Linked DNA regions of Homo sapiens: region 2 is linked to region 1. The links are contacts of gene promoters, found by promoter capture Hi-C in blood cells and fetal thymus (Javierre and others, 2016). All regions are on one chromosome and are shown on one strand. The core of a region is centred on a gene start or on the middle of the fragment in contact, and the rest is flanking DNA. Distances in the headings are between cores, read along the strand shown. Region 1 holds the start of GALC (galactosylceramidase). Region 2 overlaps NAA30 (N-alpha-acetyltransferase 30, NatC catalytic subunit).

Region 1 (5,191 bases), core at 169-2,668:
AATGATTCTTCTCATCTTAGTAATTTTAAACTGGGCTTAATAAACCTAATGGAAACAAAGACTTCCATTTTTCGGTAAGCTCTTACCCTAGATATAGTATCACAAGTAAAGCTATAAAAAAGATGGGGCCTCACTCCATGAAATATTGGCTGTTTCAGGTTTAGCCCAAAAACATAAAAAGGAGAATAGTAGTAGCAAAGAATAAATGCATTAACTCATCGGCCCACAGGTTTCCCCTGAAATACACATCAGCACGGCTGGAGAGATTGCAAATTAGGGAATGAAAACATAAAAATCAAAAAGGATCAGCTAACTCCAGGGGGAAAAAAATTTCCCCTAGCAGAAGGTTATATCTTGTGGTCACACTACAGACCAGGTCATCCTTGCAGCAGGCATTCAAGCTTGTTCTGAGTTGAATGTAAGGATGCAAGCTCCATCCAACTCAACCCCAAAAATCCGAGTTCAACCTTAACATTTTCAAGAAACATTAGCCCTAGATGTAATTTCGGATACAAAACCAAAAAACAAAAACCTTCTCACCCAAAGGTCGGCCACCATGAAGCCCATGGGCCCAGAGGGAGTACCCGGTAGTTTCAGGCCGCTCGCTTATCTTCCTTTTAAAGAGACCTTGAGGCACCAGTCCTGCCTCCAAACGAAATCCTATTCGGCGCTACCCTCTCTGGAGGAGCCCATTCTTACCCTGCACTAACAACTGCACGGGACTTAACGACTCCACCACCCACCAACTCCTCCAAAAGGGAGAGACACAGCCAAAGCATCCCACTGGGGCGTTCTCTTTCGCACACGGACGCTCCCGCACTCCCTGGCCCTTTCTGGAGCGACGCTCCCCGACTGCCATCTCCGCGATGAAGACAGCCTGTGCCCCACTGCCTGGGACGAGGGTTCCAGCCCCGGCTACTTCACTACTTAGACCTGTCACTTTACTCTCTGCACCTATACTCTCTGGACCTCCGGATCCTCATTTGTTCAAACCTAACTGCCTGTCTGGTTCGTGTTAAACGAGAAAGCACCCGCCCCAGCCCCGCAGCGGGCCCGCCCCAACCGCCTGCTGACTGGCACCCTAGGGGAATGCGGCGGAGAGTGGAGCCGGTGGAAACGCAGGGCAACGCCGCGGGGGCTTGTGGGGCTGGCCCCACGGGGCGGGCTCTTGCCGCCCCCCGCGTATCCCCGCAGCTTGCCGCTCACCCCGCCGCCGCTGACCGCGCCGATGCCGTCGAACTCCCGGCCCAGCCCGTCGGAGTCGTCGAGCACGTACGCGCCGCCGGGCGCCAGCAGCGCACACAGCAGCAAGGGCACCGCGGCGCGGCCCGCCGAACCCGCGGCCGCAGTCATAGCTTTCGCTCGGCGTTGCCAGGAAGCCGAGAGTAGCCACTCAGCCATTGTGTGGGTCACATGACTCCGGCGCCCAGGGAGGCGGGTCCCGTCGCCGCCACGATAGATACGGGCAGGAGGCCGCTGATGCTGACGCCGCCGCCGCCATTTTGAGTGCGGGTCAAGGGCCTCTGACGCAGCTGGCGGAGTGTTGAGAAAAGAAGCAGCGAGCTTTTTCTTATCGCTCGCGTGTCTGTGGTCAGCTACTGGATTTCACATGTACTTACTGCTGGCTTCTCTTCCGGCGTCACCTGGTGGAGCACTTTAACGCAGGGAAGGTGGATTCCAAGGTCCGCCAAAGGAAGAGGGCCATGAGTGGCCCTACCATGGCTCTTCCCCAGCATCTCAGGGAGTATCTACCTCGTGCGAGGACCAGGCTTGGACACCAGGTCCCGATTCCATTGTCATCTTGGTGGAATCACTTTGCTTTTGGAGCCTGAGTTTTCCCTTATGTGAGATGAGGCGAGAAGAGCAGCAGAGTGAGGGACTGAGAGAAAAGTTAATAAGCACTCAGTACATTTGAATGCATTCCACAAGTGGCAAATAGCTGAGAAGGTTCTCCAGTCTGGTAACTACCCCGGCATATTCAAAGCTTTTAGCCTTGAAGGAGTTAATAATATACCACCTCAAAATATGCTGCTGTGGCATATTGACTATTTTAAATTAAAGGCACTTAAAAACAGCAGGTGCAAGATCACTGTCATGGATATTATGTGTCTTAAAAGGAGGAGATGAAATTCCCATGTGAAAGATGTCTTCCCTATAAAATAACATTGTTATCTTCAAGGACAGAAAGTTGAAGTCGAGGGAAATCTGTCCAAACAAAATTTGTTAATCCCTATCTTTCTAGTCGCTTCTTTACCCCAAGCCCCTTCGCCTTATCATGTTTCACAACTACTATTTTTTGTCCATTTCACTCTATAAGCAATTGGCTCTTAACTGCTGCTTTAGGTCTTTTTTTTTTTTAATGAGGGCCCCCGTGCTATGTAAAATAAACATTTGTGTGGTTGTCTCCTGTCAGTCTATTAATATCTTAAATCAATTTAATACTAGGGCCATGCTGGGACCCTACAGGGACGAAGGTGAAATTTTGCCTCCCCTACAATTTTATAAACTATCTTCCACTGTCAGTTGAAGTGATTCCAGACAGGTAACTCTAAATTGGTAGGAAAGTTGTGAATTGCCCTGAATTTCTGCCACATCCAGCACTGTCCTGAGATTTCTGATTTCCTTGTTATTGAAGTAAATTAAAGAGACTCTGAAGAGCTGCAGAGAAAGATTTTCTGATCCCCAAATTTCTCTTAGCAGAAGTATGGAACTGGTTATCATTGCCTACACAAGCCCCTGAGATACCACAATGGCAAGGAAAAGACCCAGAGACTTTAGGACCTGTGGGATTTGTCTGCAGAACCCTATTTGGAATCTGATTATTTTGCCCCTTAACCACAAACCTAAATCTAAGTTTCAAGAACTCAATTATACTTGAAGGTCAAAGCTCTGGGCAATCCAATAAATATGCACATTAAGAACCCGATATCCCTGGGTTCTTAATGTACATTAGATATGTTTGTTCTTTCTTTCTTTTTGAATTGACTCTACGTCTATCCTGGTTTACTAAGGACAGTCACAACTTTTGTCTAAACATAATTACTGATAATGCTCCTTTCACCCTCAGTAGTCTTCTGGCTTGGATCAGTTAAATAGTCCCCTGTGTATGAACCACTTATTTTCTTTGGTTTCTTCTTTCCCCAGTACAACACGAATCTGAACTCTCTGCCTTGCCACTGCAACCAGTTTATGATGCAAGTCAGTAATTTTCAGTTCTGTGGATTTACTGTTACAGAATTCACTCTGATCCATTTGTTCTAACACAGTATTTTAAGCATGAGCTGGAGCTCCTGTGGATACAAGCCACAGTAACCATTCCATCAAGTGAATGTTAAGCTTCTCTTACCAGCTCTTAACAAGCGCATAAGACCCACTTAATACCGTGACTAGATGGGAAATACCAAGGTGATGACAGAGGAAACTACCTTACACATAAAACTAGGAAGTTGCATGACGATGTATGAATACCCAGCATACACCATCCTGTAGTACGTCATTGTGAAACGGGTCAGTGGTCAGTGGTCTCGTTGTCTGAGGTGTTATCCAAGCTTGTTGTCTCACAACCAAGAGAATTAAGGAGTGTGGACACCAGAGTGAGGTTGAAGAGAAAGTTTATTATATGAAAGAAGAAAGCTTTCTTTCTTTGCCATTTTGCCACTTTTACAGTTGAATCCAAAAGCTTTTATAAGAAACTCCTCTCATCTCTGTAGCTGTTTGTGTAACTTACTTGTAAAGCTATCTGTGCAGCTCCCCTTATCTGTGCAGCTGTGGGTATGTCTTGGGTAAGGATAAAGTTCAGCTTCTCTTGTTTGTGTAACTGTGGGTTCTAGGTAATCACCCTCTCCACCCCCATGCAAGTTCCCACAGAGCCCACCATGTATGTGCCTGAAAAGGGGAAGAAACTTTTTCCTGGGAACCTGCTAATCACACAAAGAACAAAAGGCTTCTATGTTGGGCCTTCCTTTCTTATCAGGGCAGCTGTTGCCTGAGTTTTCCCCAGGCCACTCTATGTGTGCCTGTAGCTTGATTTTTCAGGCTGTCTTTCTGTTTAAAAGAATTTTACCAAAGACCAACTTTAGCTGTCTGCCCAACTAAGTTTTCCCTTTTCTCGTCCCTCAATTGCACCTTGTAGTTGGAATGCACGCCACAAATATTTGAGCAATGTGTGAAGTCTACAAAAGAGGAAGCATAAACTCTAATGGAAAAGGTAGCCTCACTTCCAGGAAGTCCCAGTAGTTCCTATTAGTTCAGTTACCAAAGAAATTGCTTACCAGATAAATATTTTTTGTTTCTAATTTCTGATCTATATTCATGAGAGCAGACATGAGGTAAGAAAGTTTCTAATAAAAGGCCAATAAATACATGCTGACAGAAATCCTTGGAGTGCTGGGCACGGCACTCAAATGTGCTCAAGATGTGAGATAAAGAAAAATGACAGTTACCCCACGAGTGATCATATGCTTAGCTTCCCTTGCGTCTGTGGATCAGGGTCAGTGAGATAAGACGGTAAGAAAGGAAGGTCCCAGTTTTCAGATTTTAAATGAGTTTAAAAAGTAATGACAGTGTTTCTCTCTCTGTCTTTTTAATCTGAAACACTTCAAGAATTTGCATGTCATCCTTGCTCAGAGGCCACACTGATCTCTGTAACATTCCAGTGTTTGTAAATGTGCTGCCAAAGGAAACACGATGATTTTTCTCTTAAATAACAGGTGTTTCTAAGTATCACAACTATACTTCAGCCACCCCAAATCTCTCCTTTTTCTAAATAAAATAATGTGATCAAAATCAAATAGTCTCTTGAGAAGGATCAGAGATCTTGCCTTTTAATGAAAATTTATTGATAAACTCTAATAGCAGTCTGGATTTTTTTTTTTATTTCCCCAAGACTATCATAAAACGGTATGATAGCAGTCTGTTGTCTCACTTCAGGAAAAGGCTTTACTTTTATAAATCAGTCCACCTCCCCTTCAGTCTACCATTGATGGGCATTTAGGTTGATTCCATGTTTTTGCTATTAGGCTGTCAGAAATTCCAGGGCAGAGGCCAAGTTTATTTCTTCTTTGTATGTCTTAAGCACAGTGCCCAAACTGTGCTAAGTACTCAATAAATATTAGTTGAATTGAACTAAAAGACAAATCACTGAATGGTCACATAAGGGGATACGAATAAAGAATTATTTACAAAAGGAGTT
Region 2 (5,191 bases), core at 1,266-3,765, about 31 Mb before region 1:
GTATTGTAGATAATGGTAGTTCTATTTTCTGTCTTAACTTGCTTAAACTTCAATTCAGTACATTTGTTAAAACTGTGGGTACTACTTTATATTCTTGAAAACTGCTCTTTCAGTATTCTAAGCATTGTATCAGAATAGTTCTAAGACATGTCTGTGTCAATGAATATGAGAAAATGATTTATAGCACTATTATAAATGTCATATCAAATGCCACTGTAATTGCTAAAAATTGTAGATTTAGTTGTAAGTTAACCCACAGAAGTAGATGATTGAGTCACATTTCAAGTTGAAATAGATGTTTTTCTGTCAATTCCAGGAAATAGTTGTGTATATGATATTTAGTCAACTTTGAGTCCTGATAGTTACCTAAGCCTCTCTCAACTTGTTTGCTATTTTAGACTCTGGTCAACAATATTAGTAAACTTTAGATTTGATTTTATGTAGAACCCTCCCAATTCACCAGCTAATGTGTATGTTAGCCTTTAGTAGCTCAAGTTTGTTTAATATTCTGAGTATCTAGAATTGCGATATGCACAAGTGGTTGACCTATAAGATTTACTGGTGCAAGTATGAATCAGGAGGTATTAAACAATAATAAAACAGTAAAAAAACAACCAGGCCATTTAAAACTGAAGCCTTTATCTTGGCATACTTTTAAATTTAAGTTTCCCATAGGAACTATTTTTTTAAAAATACAGATGCGTAAATGTCTGTTTATTTTAAATCATATCCTTTTAGAACTGAAAGCCATCCTAGAGATAATCTAGCCCAACTTAGGTTTTGTTCTGTTTTGTTTTTTGATTGAAAAAAAGTTAAGAACCAAAGTGACTTAAAATGTTTCAATCTCCAGATATTTACTGACAGAGGGGTAGGTTTTGTTTTGTTTTTTGATTGAAAAGAAGTTAAGAACCAAAGTGACTTAAAATGTTTCAATCTCCAGATATTTACCGTCGGAAGGGTAAAGCTAGAACCCAGTTCTCCTGGCCTCTCATTATGGTAACAAACAAGAACCTGAAAAATGACATACCCTTGATCCATTCAGTGAAGATTATTGTGTCACCAAGTTATCTTCACCAAGGGACAGTTGCCCTTACATCAATCTCAAGAGATTAAAAACCTCCAAAATGTTCCGTTTTCCGTGGATAACCTGTAATGGGTCAATGGAGTATATGGGGTTGAACCTTACAAAATTGCCAATACTTGATTAATAAAAATGATAGCTTATTATGATTCTTCCTAATTGTAAAAGATGTAAAAAAAAAAAAAAAAAAGGACAAATGTGAGACACTTTCAGTTACTCTGTACTTAACCATTTTATCTTTACCTGTTTTCATAGTAACATTTTCAGTTGTTGGTATCTTTTTGAAGTTCTTAAACTTACTCTCAGCAAATGTAACATAGTACTTCCATTTATTTGTTCTAAATTTAACTTTTTGGCTTCCTCCAGTTTTCTATTTGTAGTGTTCTAGAATTTGGGAATCTCTCACTTTATTTTTTTCATAGTTTTATAGACTGACAACCCTTTGGCCTTGTAGTGTTAAGTCTTAATCTTGCCGGGGATTTTTCAGTTCCCATCCTTGAAAAAATACATTTAATAGCGTGAATTCCAAATGTATATGCAGAGCTTTTATTTGGAAAAATTGACAAGCAATTTAGTGATTCCTGTAAATGTACCACATATTCATGAGTAGTTTATCAGGAAAAAAAAATGCAGCATTGGTCTTCACTACTAATGTCATCGTAATGGTGTATGATATATTGGGCTTTTTAGATGATGTATACAGCTTGATTTTTGCTCCTATAGATTCTAAATTAGGAAGAAATCAGGTCTTAAGAATGAACTAATTTAATATTTTGTTTGCTTATTCCATGCTCAAAGGACAAAGATTTGTTTGAAATTCCTGTTCAGATTGAAAGTACTGTCCAGTTGTATTGTGTTTAATGGTTTTAATTTTTCCTCATTTTTGGATAGTTTTATATAAGGTGTAGCTATTCTGAGGTTTGTATCATCAATCTAATACAGGTTTTCATTTCACCTGAGCCTGGCTTATGAGGTCAGGCCAAAATTTTTTCTGGCCCTTTTAAATATACCATTTGGTCTGTGATAATTTTATGTATGTGTATGTATTTATACGTGTCTGTATATACGCACATATATTTGAAGTGAGTTTCAAATCAGAAAAAGCTTTCAGAGTTGGTCGAGGCGATTTTTGTGCATACTTCAGGTCTTTGTTTAAAAAATTTTTTTAAAAGATTGATGTATTGTGAGGGAAAAAATTAGAAATAACAATTTCAGAGGTTTATTGACCCAAAATAGTTTTGGAATGTGTGATAAACCAGAAATGAATTAGCGTGGGTTGTTGAATTTCATATTCCTTCAAAAGGATTTTTCCGACCTAGTTTAGGTTTGCATGAAATGGATTAGAATTATCTTGCTGAAAAGATTTCTCCACAGTTAAAAAAAGGCCTTTTAATCAATTTACAGAATGACAGACTAAAAAAGTCACAAATTTAAAATATGTATTAATTATAAATTGGACATTACTTATTAGTTTTTTGACTCATTTCTGCTTTTGTTGAAATAGTTTCTTCTGGAAAGTTAATTTATGGAAAACAGACTTCTTACTGACACATTATTTAAACAGTTGGAGATACTGCCCTATTTATATTTACCAGAAATACTGTGTTACTAGAACTTTTTATCAGCATTGGAATTTTTGAAAAACATTTTCAATGGTAACACTAGAAATCTTAATGAAAATGGGGGATGATTAGAATTTAACATGTAGCTTTTAATACTCTGGAAAGCTGTACGTTTTTATTAAAATAGAAATTTCTGTAAAATTAAAGCTTTTAACATAAAGCTTTGATTTTGAACTATAAATATTCTGAGAGCTTTATGACAGTTATCCACACTATCAGGAGTATCCTAAAAATGAGACTATGCTACACTTACATATATTAACAAAAACCTCTTGGGTATGGTCTAAGCAATACCTTATAAACTGTGCTTTTTCTGAAAATTTTTAATTTTTTTTTCCTGATCGAAATCTACCATTCAGGTGTAAATATGTATTATATCTGGCTTTCACTAAAACTTTATTATTAAATTTATTTTCATTTTTTTCTTTTATTGAGATGGGGTCTCACTCTGTCACCTAGGCTGGAGTGCAGTGGCACGATCTCAGCTCACTGTAGCCTCTCCCTTCCTGGCTCAAGCCATTCTCCTATCTCAGCTTTCCAAGTAGCTGGAACTACAGGTGCATGCCACCACACCTGGCTAATTTAAGTAATTTTGGTGGAGACAGGGTTTTGCCATGTTGCCCACGCTGATCTCAAACCCCTGAGCTCAAGCAATCTGCCTGCGCCTGCCTCCCAAAGTGCTGGGTTTACAGGCATGAGCCACAGCACCTGGCCATTATTACTAAATTTAACTGAATATATTTAAATTTACATTCTGCTGATGGGCAAGTTTTACAATATTTTATGTCCTAATGAATAGACTTTTTCTTTATAATCATTTTTTTTTTGCATATTTCCCCTTCCAGAACCTTAGGTCTTTGTTGCAAATAATTGTGATTTTAAGCACCTCATATGTAATCTTATAAAGTACTTGAATGTTTACCTTGTGGAATCTTGTCTTTTTTCCCTAGGCTTTAATAGTAAGCATAAAAAATTCATGTTCTAAAGAATATTGAGAAATTTTAACACTGGAACATTTAAAGGAGTTAGGGGATTTAGATTTCTGAAACTTCTGTGACTGCTGTCTTGCAAGAGTTCCCATTATCTTCCCCCGTCGAAAATGCTTACCAATGGTTGGTTGTTGTTTTCTCTGGATAATTGTGCAGTACCTGATGGCAATGTATTCTTCATAACTGTTTGTTTATTTTTAAGGCCATGGTAGGGGAGGAGTGTGTAGGTGCCATCGTTTGCAAGTTGGATATGCACAAAAAGATGTTCCGCAGAGGTTATATAGCCATGTTAGCCGTGGATTCCAAATACAGGAGAAATGGCATTGGTAAGAAAAATATTATTTTATGGAAAGAATGCCTAAGCTATTTTCATTTTTGTTGTGTTTTGAAATAAAAGACTTAAATGTAAGTATGTAGAAATGAAAGAAACTAAGGGAAGAAAATTAAGGCGGGTTTTAATTTTTAATTTCAAAATGGTATTTTTAAAAAGTTCTTAAAATGAATTTTTTCTTTATTAATGTTTTGTTTGACAGTTTTTCGTTTTAACAAGTAGCCGATCATCAGCTTTCACCTGCAGATTTTTTTAATCACATTCAAAATGCTTTGCATTATGCTAAGTACCACAAGAAATACTGCAATTTATAATTACATTATGATGGTCCTTCATGCCAGCCTTCAAGCACTTGTCTGTATTTGGGTTAAGTGGACCTCAATCAAGCCAAAATTATGGACAAATTGTTACCATTACTTGGTGCTAGTCATCAACTATATATTGCAATTCAGGAAAGATCAGGAGATGAGAATTGATTGTTTCTTGTAATTCCCAAACTTAATTTTTTGTTGGGTCTACTTTTCCTGACATGTTTAGTTAATCTTAACACTCATGATTTATAATGATCATTAGAATCATGTGGGTGGTTTAAAAACATGTATTTGGGCCCCTCACCCTGAGACTCTTGTTTGTCTTGTCAGAGGTGGGGCTGAAGCTTCCCTAGGTGACTGTGATGTAAGCCTGATTAAGAACCACTCTTCTATGGCTGGGTTAGATAACTTTTGTCATTTAAATAACGCCATAAAACTCAATAGGCCACCAGGTGCCGGGTGCGGTGGCTCACGCCTATAATCCCAGCATTTTGGGAGGCCAAGGCAGGTGAGTCACTAGGTCAGGAGTTCAAGACCAGCCTGGGCAAGATGGCGAAACCCTGTCTCTACTAAAAATACAAAAATTAGCTGGGAGTGGTGGTGGGCACCTGTCATCCCAGCTACTCAGGAGGCTGAGGCAGGAGAATTGATTGAACCTGGGAGGTGGAGGTTGCAGTGAGCGTGCCACTGCACTCTAGCCTGGGTGACAGAGCAAGACTCCGTTTCAAAAAACCACTCTTCTATTCTCTAGGACCTAGTGGCTCTTTGTTCACAGTGGAGAATTGGGTAGACAAGCATTTGTCTAAGCATGTCAAATTTTGTGATGTGCTTTAGCTGAGTATTCATAAAAAAAAGTT

What was found. The method cuts DNA at HindIII sites, captures the fragments that hold promoters and counts their contacts. A CHiCAGO score of 5 or more calls a contact.
Region 2: a fragment that was not itself captured here is called in contact with the fragment with the promoter of GALC in region 1 in 1 of 17 cell types (fetal thymus); the score reaches 6.1 in fetal thymus.

Annotation. Positions count from the first base shown.
Region 1 is chr14:87,991,764-87,996,954 of GRCh38, forward strand. It overlaps GALC (galactosylceramidase), which reads right to left and starts at 1,419. Exons shown (of 17, transcript NM_000153.4): 1 at 1,207-1,419. The coding sequence starts at 1,401. It also overlaps the pseudogene RNU6-835P. RefSeq lists a silencer at 1,087-1,276 and enhancers at 1,232-1,732, 1,427-1,756. The HindIII fragment of the contact is 1,583 bases long and covers 400-1,982 here.
Region 2 is chr14:57,392,858-57,398,048 of GRCh38, forward strand. NAA30 (N-alpha-acetyltransferase 30, NatC catalytic subunit) reads left to right here. Exons shown (of 5, transcript NM_001011713.3): 3 at 3,895-4,018. Among named protein-coding and RNA genes, the nearest start is that of NAA30, 4.9 kb to the left of the region's middle. The HindIII fragment of the contact is 665 bases long and covers 2,184-2,848 here.